2 separate regions of the Homo sapiens genome follow, and region 2 is linked to region 1. The links are contacts of gene promoters, found by promoter capture Hi-C in human tissues and cell types (Jung and others, 2019). All regions are on one chromosome and are shown on one strand. Each heading gives the region's core, a stretch centred on a gene start or on the middle of the fragment in contact. The rest is flanking DNA. Distances are from core to core; before and after follow the strand shown. Region 1 holds the start of HAVCR1 (hepatitis A virus cellular receptor 1). Region 2 has its middle 21 kb from the start of TIMD4.

Evidence for each region. The method cuts DNA at HindIII sites, captures the fragments that hold promoters and counts their contacts. A contact is called where the count stands out against the background at its distance.
Region 2: a fragment that was not itself captured here is called in contact with the fragment with the promoter of HAVCR1 in region 1 in 3 of the 25 tissues and cell types used here (adrenal gland, aorta and stomach).

Annotation. Positions count from the first base shown.
Region 1 is chr5:157,056,454-157,062,229 of GRCh38, forward strand. HAVCR1 (hepatitis A virus cellular receptor 1) reads right to left here and starts at 2,663. Exons shown (of 9, transcript NM_001173393.3): 1 at 2,468-2,663; 2 at 1,445-1,502. The coding sequence starts at 1,490. The HindIII fragment of the contact is 13,602 bases long and covers 1-5,776 here.
Region 2 is chr5:156,981,403-156,987,608 of GRCh38, forward strand. No RefSeq gene overlaps it. Among named protein-coding and RNA genes, the nearest start is that of TIMD4, 21 kb to the left of the region's middle. The HindIII fragment of the contact is 5,224 bases long and covers 1,686-6,206 here.

The DNA.
Region 1 (5,776 bases), core at 1,413-3,912:
ACTGCAAGCTCCGCCTCCCAGGTTCACGCCATTCTCCCGCCTCAGCCTCCCCAGCAGCTGAGACTACAGGCACACGCCGCCACGCCCGGCTAATTTTTTTGTATTTTTAGTAGAGACGGGGTTTCACCATGTTAGCCAGGATGGTCTCGATTTCCTGACCTCGTGATCTGCCCGCCTTGGCCTCCCAAAGTGCTGGGATTACAGGTGTGAGCCACCACGCCCGGCCACCAAGAAATTCTTGTTTAATTTTGCCTAATACTAGTATCATTTTTTTGGATTACACATATAATGCATGCTATTACAATTTGGTTATAGAAGTATATAATGAGAGATTATTTTTCCCCCATAATCCCAAAGGCATATATCACTCCAGAAATTTGTGTTTAAAAATTAGGATATGTCTATTTTACTCTTTCCTTATCTCATAGAATGTTTTGAATTAAAGTGTTTATTTCAAAATAAAATACTTAGGCCAGATGTGGTGGCTAACGCCTATAATCCCAGCACTTTGGGAGACTGAGGTGGGAGAATCACTTGAGCCCAGGAGGTCGAGGTTGCAGTGAATCAAGATTGCCCAACTAGGCCAGGCGCGGTGACTCACGCCTATAATTCCAGCACTTTGGGAGGCCGAGGCAGGTGGATCACAAGGTCAGGAGTTCAAGATCAGCTTGGCCAAGATGGGGAAACCTTGTCTCTACTAAAAATACAAAAAAATTAGCTGGTAGTGGTGGCAGGTACCTGTAATCCCAGCTACTTGGGAGACTGAGGCAGAGAATTGCTTGAACCCAGGAGGCGGAGGCTGCAGTGAGCCGAGATCACGCCACTGAACTCTAGCCTGGGCGACAGAGTGAGACTCTGTCTCAAAAAAAAAAAGATTGCCCTACTGCACTCCAGAGTGAGACCTCATGAAGAGAGAGAGAGAGAGAGAGAGAGGAAAGAAAGAAAGAAAGAAAGAAAGAAAGAAAGAAAGAAAGAAAGAAAGAAAGAAAGAAAGAAAGAAAGAAAGAAAGAGAATTGAATGTGGCTGAAAAAAATCGGAAGGCACAAAAAAATACAATAAGGATTAACTCTCCCTCCACCTCCCACCCTCTGCCCCCATCCCACATTACCCACTGTCACTATTTCCTATATACATGTGTCTATGCATATACATCTAACCACACCCTTTTTGTTTAAACACAAAGGGCAGCCTGTGACACACTGTGCTGCATCTTGCCTTGTTCATTTAGCCATGAATGTTGTAATTCACAGCAGTTAAGCAATTTCTTTGGCCTAAAACTTTATTCTGGTCCTGCTCACTAGTTAACTCATAGCCATACAACGGTACCCAAAGAACATCTACATTAATCCACCACCACCATCCCCTCCCCTTCCCCTACCCCATTCTCTGGCTTCTAACCCCCCTCTACTCCCTTCTTCCCGCCCAGGGCACCTACTCACTTACCTGCCAGATGTAGGATGAGGCTTAAGATGACCACTTGAGGATGCATTATGGGATCAGCCTGAAGGAAAATGAGCAGACAGGCTGGTTGGTACCCTCCACCAGATGGTATCTGATCAAGTCTTAAATCTCAGATTGCAACTTATCTTTTCACCCAGTTGGTTGATTCATATGAGCCTGCTCTGCTGGAAATGAGAGAAGACCACATATAACGGCTTCAGAGCTCTGTTAGTTCCCTGCAGCTGAGAGCTCTGTGCCTTCCAAAGGACAGGGAAAGCTGTCCACAGAAACAGCCCCTGACTTCCCAGCTTCTTCCCCACACATAACCGCCAAACTGACTCCTGGTCCTGATACAGGGTATCAGGGGAACAAACAAAAAGGAAACAGGGCCGGGCGCGGTGGCTCAAACCTGTAATCCTAGCACTTTGGGAGGCCAAGGCGGGCAGATCACGAAGTCAGGAGATCGAGACCATCCTGGCTAAAAGGGTGAAACCCCGTCTCTACTAAAAATACAAAAAATTAGCCGGGCGTGGTCACTGGCGCCTGTAGTCCCAGCTACTCGGGAGGCTGAGGCAGGAGAATGGCGTGAACCCGCGGGAGGCGGAGCTTGCGGTGAGCCGAGATCGCGCCACTGCACTCCAGCCTGGGCGACAGAGCAAGACTCCGTCTCAAAAAACAAAACAAAAAAAAAGAAAAGAAAAGGAAACTGGAAGCAGAGAACCAGCGTGGCTCAATGGCAGCACGAGAGCAAATGCCAGCCTTCCAGTGGCAGAGATGCACTTGCTTTTCAGAGTAAACTGGGCCTCTGGTGGACGTGGAGCTTTTCCTACTCAGTGGCCACAACGACTTATCCCTAGCCTTAACAGTCATATTGCCAAGTTTGCCATTAGCAAGAGAAATTGAGAGTGAATGTGAATCACTGTGCCTAACCTTTCATGCTCCTGTACAACATGCTTCAGACTACACCTCCTTACCAAGGGACTTCAAGAGAATGCTTCAGGAAACAGAAGTCTGGAGCAGACTTACGTTCAGATCCAGGCTCTGTCACTCACAATGCTGGGTAACCCTGAGAGTTCCTGAGTTCTCTTCAAACCTCTATTTCCTCAGTTGTAAAATAGCACTAAAAATGCTTCCTCTATCTCCCACCAAGGATTGATATAATAAGCAAAAAGGGCCACGGAAGAACTTGGAAAACTAAACCTACATCATATGCAGTAATAGCACTAGCTGAGGTTTTTGGAGAATACTATATAGCAGGCTCTGTGTCAAGCACCCACATGCGTTAAATCGGGCTGTTGACTTCTGCTGTTAATCATTAAACCATACAAACATGAGTAAGCTTGCCTAGTACTTCATTAACTCCTCTTCTGGTCTAAGAATTCAGTAACTTCCAAGGAGGCAGTGGTGGTCTGTATCTTGCAGCTCATGACAGGGTTCATGGGGAAGTGGATGATCTCAGCATAGTGTTTTGTATGGCAGCGTTTAAAAATTCATTTCTTGACCGGGCATGGTGGCTCGTGCCTGTAACCCCAGCACTTTGGGAGGCCGAGTAGGCCAGTCACCTGAGGTCGGGAGTTCAAGACCAGCCTGGCTAACACGGTGAAACCCCGACTCTACTAAAAATACAAAAATTAGCTGGGGGTGGTGGCGGGCGCCTGTAATCCCAGCTACTTAGGAGGCTGAGGTAGAAGAATTGCTTGAACCTGGAAGGTGGAGGTTGCAGTGAGCCGAGATCAAGCCATTGCACTCTAGCCTGGACAACAAGAACAAAACTCCATCTCAAAAATAAAAATAAAAATTCATTTCTTGCCAGGCACAGTGGCTCACGCCTGTAATCCCAACACTTTGGGAGGCCAAGGCAAGTGGATCACCTGAGGTAAGGAGTTTGAGACCAACCTGGGCAACATAGCAAGACTCCCTCTCTGCAAAAAAAACGAACAAAAAATATAGTCAGGCCTTGTGTACCTGACCGTAGTCCCAGCTACTCAGGAGGCTGAGGCAGGAGGGTTGCTTGAGCCCAGCAGTTGGAGGCTATGATTGTGCCACTGCACACCAGCCGGGGTGACAGAGCAAGACCCTGTTTCTTAAGGAAAAAAAGATTGAAAAAAAAAAGCTAATTCAATTCAACCAGTTATTACTAACATATTGAGCTGATGGGACATGACTCAATATACTAGGGACGTCAAAAATCCAGACTTGTGCAATCGGGCAGGGACATGGGTAAGTAAGCAACTAATGAAATCAGGATAAGTGAGGTAAAGGTAAATATATAATCAGACTACATCATTCCCCCACTTATAACCCTCTCATAACTCTCTCAGAAAAATAATAATAATAATAATAATAATAATTCCTAAATCTTTACTCAAATTACTGAAGCCCTGGTGGTCTGGCCCTGACCTACCCCATAGATTTCTTCTACCACTCTCTCCCCTGCTGACTCAGCCCCAGCTACTAGAGCTTTCTTTCCAACTTGCCTCAACCCTAAGGCCTTTTCCGTGGCTGTGTTCTCCATCTAGCTCCCCAGCCCCACCATTTTCACTTTTTTCCTTTTCATTTTTATCCCGGCTTAAATATGACCTCCCTGGACATTTTTCACAGGTCCTTCAATCTAAAGTAGCCAACCAGTCCCTCTCACTATTATTATCTTGTTTTCCTTAATCCATTTTATCTGTGTGTGCAATATATGTGGTGTCTGTCTCTATTCCCTCCTATAGAGTGCTGCCCGGTAGAATTTTAGTAATGGAGTTATTCTGGTAACGGAGTTATTCTGGAACTGATGAGCCACAGAGAGCCAAGACAGGGATGTGGAGCCAGTGCTCTGAGATGTTACATAACTGTACAATTCCATAGGATTTGAATTTGAATTCCATAGGATCGATTCTGTCTCCAGTAGAATATTGGTTACAGAGTTATTCTGTGTGAGTGTCGTGCACTACAGCAGCCACTAGCCACATATGACTATTGAGCACTTGAAATGTGGCTAAGGCAACCAAGGCATTTTTAATTTTTTTTTTTTCCAAGACAGAGCCTGACTCTGTCACCCAGGCTGGAGTGCAGTGTCACAATCTCAGCTCAGTGCAACCTCCATCTCCTGGGTTTAAGTGATTCTCTTGCCACAGTCTCCTGAGTAGCTGGGACTACAGACACGCGCCACCATGCCTGGCTAATTTTTGTATTTTTAGCAGAGGTGGAGTTTCACCATGTTGGCCAGGCTGGGCTGGAACTCCTGGCCTCAAGTGATACGCTCATCTCAACTTCCAAAAGTGCTGGAATTACAGGTGTGAGCCGCCATGCCTGGCCTAAAAATTTTTATTTAATTTCATTTTAATTAAAATTTCAGATTGCTTGAGCCCAGGAGACAGTCTTCGGGGAGTTGAGATGGCACCACTGCACTCAAGCCTTAGATGACAGAGCTTTCAAAAAAATAAATTAATTAAAAACAAAAAAATAAAATTTAAATTGTCACACATAGTGACTGTGTTGTGTGGCACCCAACTCCAGACCATAAACTCCTTTAAGGCAATTTAAGTGTTGAAGCCAGGCATGGTTGCTCACACCTGTAATCCAAAGGAGGCCGAGGTGGGAGGATCACTTGAGGTCAGGGGTTCCAAACCAGCCTGGCCAACATGGTGAAACCCAACTCTACCAAAAATGCAAAAATTAGCCAGGCGTGGTGGCGGGTGCCTGTAATCCCAGCTACTCAGGAGGCTGAGGCAAGAGAATCGCCTGAACCCGGGAGGCAGAATTTACCCTGAGCGGAGATCATGCCACTGCACTCTGGCCTGGGCCACAGAGTGAGACTTCTCAAAAAAAAAAAAGTTATTAATTGAATAGATAAACAAATGGAAACACAAACCCATAGGGAAAGACCATTCATTTTGATGACGGAATGTGGGGGGTGGGAAGAATTTCTTAAAAAGTGACATGTGAGAAGAATGGGTGGAGGGTGTTTCAACTGGAGGAAATGATGAGCCAGAGAGAGCCAGGACAGGGATGTGGAGCCAAGGCTCTGAGATGTTACATAACTGTACAATTCCATAGGGTTGAATTTTCTGACACAGGACCATCTCCCATGAGAGACGCCTGTGTTCTAAAGACTCCCAAACAATATAGCACAGTGGATTTTTTTAATGAGCTATACAACCTCCAGGGATCACTACTCTTTAGGGCAAACTTCATGACCCCCCTGAAGGATGCATCCCAGTTGTAGGGTAAAGCTGGAAGTGACAATACTTGGGCACCAAAGCTGAATTTCCAGCTGCTCACTAGGGAGCTGCATCTGTATAAACCAAGATTAACGGCAGTGAATTGAAATGATTCAGAACATGGGCC
Region 2 (6,206 bases), core at 3,048-5,547, 73 kb before region 1:
TGTGCACCTCAGCCTCCCAAAGTGCTGAGATTATAGGCATGAGCCACCACACCTGGCCAAGAACAGTTATTCTTTAAGGGAACTTGAGGGGAATAAGTTTAGTCTACATAAGTGCACAGATACAATTCAGGAATGGATATTTTTGGACAGGAATTATTTTTACCATTGTCATTTTGGCTAGTTACTGAACTGGCTCTTTCCCTGTCATCAGCTTATCAGCTATATCACCCCCCAACCCCCCACTCTAATACTGAAGCTCTTTTCAACTGGGCCCATGCAATTTAAGTGTTTCCTAGTTTGAAAAGAAAAGAGGAAGAGGGAGAAATGAAACTTCTGGAGTTGTATTGCTAAAGGAAGCTTGTCCTTTCAGACACTTTTCTACCAAATTTTTACTCAAACTTCCTCTTTTGTGGGCTAAGAGAGTTTTTTTCATATTCAGATAAAAAATATATTAGAGAAAACATGCAAAATCCACCACCTGAGTGTCTTGCATAACAGATGTATTTCTTCACTTACATGAAGTTCATTTCTCCATCTATGCACCAGGTCCAATTTCTTCCCCAACATCTCTAGGGTACCTGGGAAAGAAACCAATGTTATACTTTTAAAGAACAGCAGATCTTAAAATCAAATGATCATCTCAAAATGCAAAAGTATGGTTTAGAAGTAGGTGGAGGTACAGTAAATTTCTTAAAAATGAATGCAAGACTAGTGTTAATATCATAAAATTGCAAATAATCTAAGTCTCATGTGCCATCAACATGCATCAAATAAAGATTCTGAGTAATCAAATAAAGATTCAGCAACCATTTATAAGAATATTGTATCACTGATCATTAGAGAAATGCAAATCAAAACCACAATGAGTACCATCTCACACCAGTCAGAATGGCTAATACTAAAACGTCAAAAAGTAACAAGTGCTGATGAGGTTGCAGAGAAAAAGGAACACTTATACACTGTTGGTGGGAGTGTAAATTAGTTTCCGCTATTGTGGAAAACTGTGTGACTATTTTTTGAAGACCTAAAAACAGAACCATCATTCAACTCAGCAATCCCATTACTGGGTATATACCCAAAGAAACATAAATTGCTGTATCATAAAGATATATACACACATATGTTCATTGCAACACTGTTCATAATAACAAAGACATGGAATCAACCTAAATGCCCATCAATGACAGATTGGATAAAGAAAATGTGGGCTGGGCACGGTGGCTCATGCCTGTAATCCCAGCACTTTGGGAGGCTGAGGCAGGTCAATCACCTGAGGTCAGGAATTCGAGACCAGCTTGGGCGACATGGTGAAACCCCATCTCTACTAAGAAACTACAAAATTAGTAGTGCATGCCTGTAATCCCAGCTACTCGGGAGGCTGAGGCAGGAGAATAGCTTGAACCTGGGAGGCGGAGGTTGCAGTGAGCCAAGATTGTGCCACTGCACTCCAGCCTGGGTGACAGAGCAAGACTCTGTCTCAAAAAAAAAAAAAAAAAAAGAAAAGAAAAGAAAGAAAAAGAAAAGAAAAACAAAAATGTGGTACATACAAACCATGGAATACTATGCAGCTATTAAAAAAAAGAATGAGATCATGTCCTTGGCAGGAGCACAGATGGAGCTGGAGGCTATCATCCTTAGCAAACTAACGCAGGAACAGAAACCCAAATAACTCATGTTCTCACTTGTAGGTCGAAGCTAAATGATGAGAATGCCTCGTGGACACGTAAAGGAGAAAATAAACACTGGGGCTTATCAGAGGGTGGAGGGTGGGAAGAGGGAGGGGATCAGGAAAAATAACTAATGGGTACTAGGCTTAATACTTGGGTGACAAAATAATCTGTATAACAAACCCTCATAACACAAGTTTACCTATGCAGTAAACCTGCACATGTACTCCTAACCTTAAAATAAAAGTTAAAAAAAGTAATAAAGAATGTTGTAGGTGCATATTTATTGATGTGAAAAGATCCCCAGGATAGAAGTGAGGAAAATGATCTTCATCTTGAGTGTGACAATTAAAATACAAAAGATCAACAACCTTAACCCACTCTTGTAAGAAGGAGCACATACATACACAGACAAAAGCCTGAAAGGTTATATTTTTAAAATTGTTTAACAATGTGTCTCTTCTGGGCAAAGGAAACAGGTGATTTTTTTATCCTTTTTCTTTTATATATATACATCTTCTAATTTTGTATAACAATTTTATTTTTGAGACAGGCTGTCATTCTGTCACCCAGGATCGAGTGCAGTGGCATGAATATGGCTCACCGCAACCTCCACTTCCCAGGTTCAAGTGATCCTCCCACCTCAGCCTCCCAAGTAGCTGTGATTACAGGTGCACACCACCATACCAGACTAATTTTTTGCATTTTTGGTAGAGACAGAGTTGTGTCATGTTAGTCAGGCTAGTCTCAAACTCCTGAGCTCAGGTGATCCACATGCCTCAGCCACCCAAAGTGCTGGGATTACAGGTGTGAGCCACTGCACCTGGCCCTGTATCTTGAGTGTGTTGGTAGTTATACAATTGTATATATTTGCCAATCTGAGGTATACCCGAAATGGGTGAGTTCTACTGTATGTAAATCATACCCCAATATAGCTGTTTTTACGAAGCATGCAACAAAACTTAAGAAAAAAACACTATCAAAGTATGTGGAAATATAAAATGTAAAGCTCTATAGAAATATAAAGAATTTTTCTTTAGTGCTTTTCTTTGAAAACAAAACAAAGAAGTGGCTGGCAACATGGCCAAATAGGAAGAGCTCCGGTCTGCAGCCCCCAGCGAGTTCACCGCAAAAGGTGGGTGATTTCTGCATTTCCAGCTGAGGTAGCCAGCTCATCTCATAGGGACTGGTTAGACAGCGGGTGCAGCTCACGGTGGGCGAGCCAAGCAGGGTGGGGTGTCGCCTCACCCAGGAAGTGCAAGGGGTTGGGGAACTCCCTCCCCTAGCCAAGGAAAGCCTTGAGGGACTGTGCCATGAGGAACGGTGCATTCCGGTCCAGATACTAAGCTTTTCCCATGGTCTTCACAACCAGCAGACTAGGAGATTCCCTTGGGTGCCTATGCCATCAGGACCTTTATTTAAAGCACAAAACTGGGCGGCCATTTGGACGAACACCAAGCTAGCTACAGGAGTTTTTTTTCATACCCTAGTGGCACCTGGAACACCAGTGAGATAGAACTGTTCACAACCCCCTGGGAAGGGGGCTGAAGCCAGGGAGCCAAGTGGTCTAACTCAGCGGATCCCACCCCCATGGAGCCCAGCAAGCTGAGATCCACTGGCTTGAAATTCTTGCTGCCAGCACAGCAGTCTGAAGTTGATCTGGGATGCTCCACTCCAGCTTGGTGGCAGGAGGGGAGTCCACCATTACTGAGGCTTGAGTAGGTGGTTTTCACCTCACAGTGTAAACAAAGCTGCAGGGAAGTTTGAACTGGATGGAACCCACCACAGCACTGCAAAACCACTGTAGCCAGACTGCCTCTCTGGATTCCTCCTCTCTGGGTAGGGCATCTCTGAAAGAAAGGCAGCAGCCCCAGTCAGGGCTTATAGATAAAACTCCCATCTCCCTGGGACAGAGCACCTGGGGGAAGGGGCAGCTGTGGGCGCAGCTTCAGCAGACTTAAACATTCCTACCTGCCGGCTCTGAAGAGAGCAGGGGATCTCCCAGAACAACACTTGAGCTCTCCTAAGAGACACACTGCCTCCTCAAGTGGGTCCCTGACTCCCGTGCCTCCTCACTGGGAGACACCTTCCAGCAGGGGTCAAGAGAAATCTCATACAGGAGACCTCCAGCTGGCATCTGGCGGGTGCCCCTATGGGATGAAGCTTCCAGAGGAAGGAACAAGCAGCAATCTTTGCTGTTCTGCAGCCTCTGCTGGTGATACCCAGGCAAACAGGGTCTGGAGTGGACCTCCAGCAAACTCCAGCAGACCTGCAGCAGAGAGGCCTGACTGTCAAAAGGAAAACAAACAAACAGAAAGGAATAGGATCAACATCAACAAAAAGGACATCCACACAGAAACCCCAACCAAAGGTCACCAACATTAAAGAGCAAAGGTAGATAAATCCGTGAAGATGAAGAAAAACCAGAGCAAAAAGGCTGAAAATTCCCAAAACCAGAATGGCTCTTCTCCAAAGGATCACAACTCCTCTCCAGCAAGGGAACAAAACTGGACGGTGAATGAATTTGATGAATTGACAGAGGAGGTTTCAGAAGATAGGTAATAACAAACTCCTCTGAGCTAAAAGAGCAGGTTCTAACCCAATGCAAGGAAGCTAAGAACCTGAGAAAAGGTTAGACAAATTGCTAACTAGAATAATCATTTTAGAGAAGAACATAAATAACCTGATGGAGCTGAAAAACACAGCACGAGAACTTGTGTATGCTTTGTGAAGCATACACAAATATCAATAGCAGAATTGATCAAGTGGAAGAAAGGATATCAGAGATTTTAAATCAACTTAATGAAGTAAAGCATGAAGACAAGATTAGAGAAAAAAGAATGAAAAGGACCAAACAAAGCCTCCAAGAAATATTGGACTGTGTGAAAAGACCAAACCTACATTTGATTGGTATACCTGAAAGTGATGGGGAGAATGGAACCAAGTTGGAAAACACTCTTCAGGATATTATCCAGGAGAACTTCCCCAACAGAGCAAGGCAGGCCAACATTCAAATTCAGGAAATACAGAAAACACCACAAAGATACTCCTTGAGAAGAGCAACCCCAAGACACATAATTGTCAGATTCACCAAGGTTGAAATGAAGGAAAAAATGTTAAGGGCAGCCAGAGAGAAAGGTCGGGTTACGCACAAAGGGAAGCCCATCAGACTAACAGCAGATCTCTTTGCAGGAACCCTACAAGCCAGAAGAGTGGGCCAATATTCAATATTCTTAAAGAAAATAATGTTCAACCCAGAATTTCATATCCAGCCAAACTAAGCTTTATAAGTGAAGGAGAAATAAAATCCTTTACACACAAGTAAATGCTGAGAGATTTTGTCACCACCAGGCCTGCCTTACAAGAGCTCCTGAAGGAAGCACTAAACATGGAAAGGAACAACCACTGCAAAAACATACCAAATTGTAAAGACCATCGACACCATGAAGAAACTGCATCATCTATTGGGCAAAATAACCAGCTAGCATCATAATGACAGCATCAAATTCACACATAGCAATATTAACCTCAAATGTAAATGGGCTAAATGCCCCAGTTAAAAGACACAGACTGGCAAATTGGACAAAGAATCAAGACCCATCAGTGTGCTGTATTCAGGAGACCCATCTCACATGCAGAGACACACATAGGCTCAAAATAAAGGGATGGAGGAAGATCTACCAAGCAATGGAAAGCAAAAAAAAGCAGGGGTTGCAATCCTACTCTCTGAAAAAACAGACTTTAAACCAACAAATATCAAAAGAGACAAAAAAGGCCATTACATAATGGTAAAGGGATCAAGCCAACAAGAAGAGCTAACTATCCTAAATATATATGCACCCAATACAGGAGCACCCAGATTCATAAAGCAAGTTCTTAGAAGCCTACAAAGAGACTTAGACTCCCACACAATAATAGTGGGAGATTTTAACATGCCACTGTCAATATTATACAGATCAATGAGACAGAAAATTTACAAGGATATTTAGGACTTGAACTCAGTTCTGGACTAAGCAGACCTAATAGACATCTACAGAACTCTTCACCCCCAAATCAACAATCTTCTCAGCACCACATCGCACTTATTCTAAAATTGACTGCATAATTGGAAGTAAAAGCAAAAGAATGAAAATCATAACAAACAGTCTCTCAGACCACAGTGCAATCAAATTAGAATTCAGGATTAAGAAACTCACTCAAAACCACACAACTACATGGAGACTGAACAACCTGCTCCTGGATGACTCCTGAATGAAAATGAAACTAAGGCAGAAATAAATAAGTTATTTGAAATGAATGAGAGGAAAGACAAAACATATCAGCATATCTGGGACACAGCTAAGGCAGTGTTTAGAGGGAAATGTATAGCACTAAATGCCCACAGGAGAAAGCGGGAAAGATCTAAACTCGACCCCTAACATCACAATTAAAACAACTAGAGAAGCAAGAGCAAACACATTCAAAAGCTAGCAGAAGACAAGAAATAACTAGGATCAGAACAGAACTGAGGGAGATAGAGACACAAAAAACCCTTCAAAA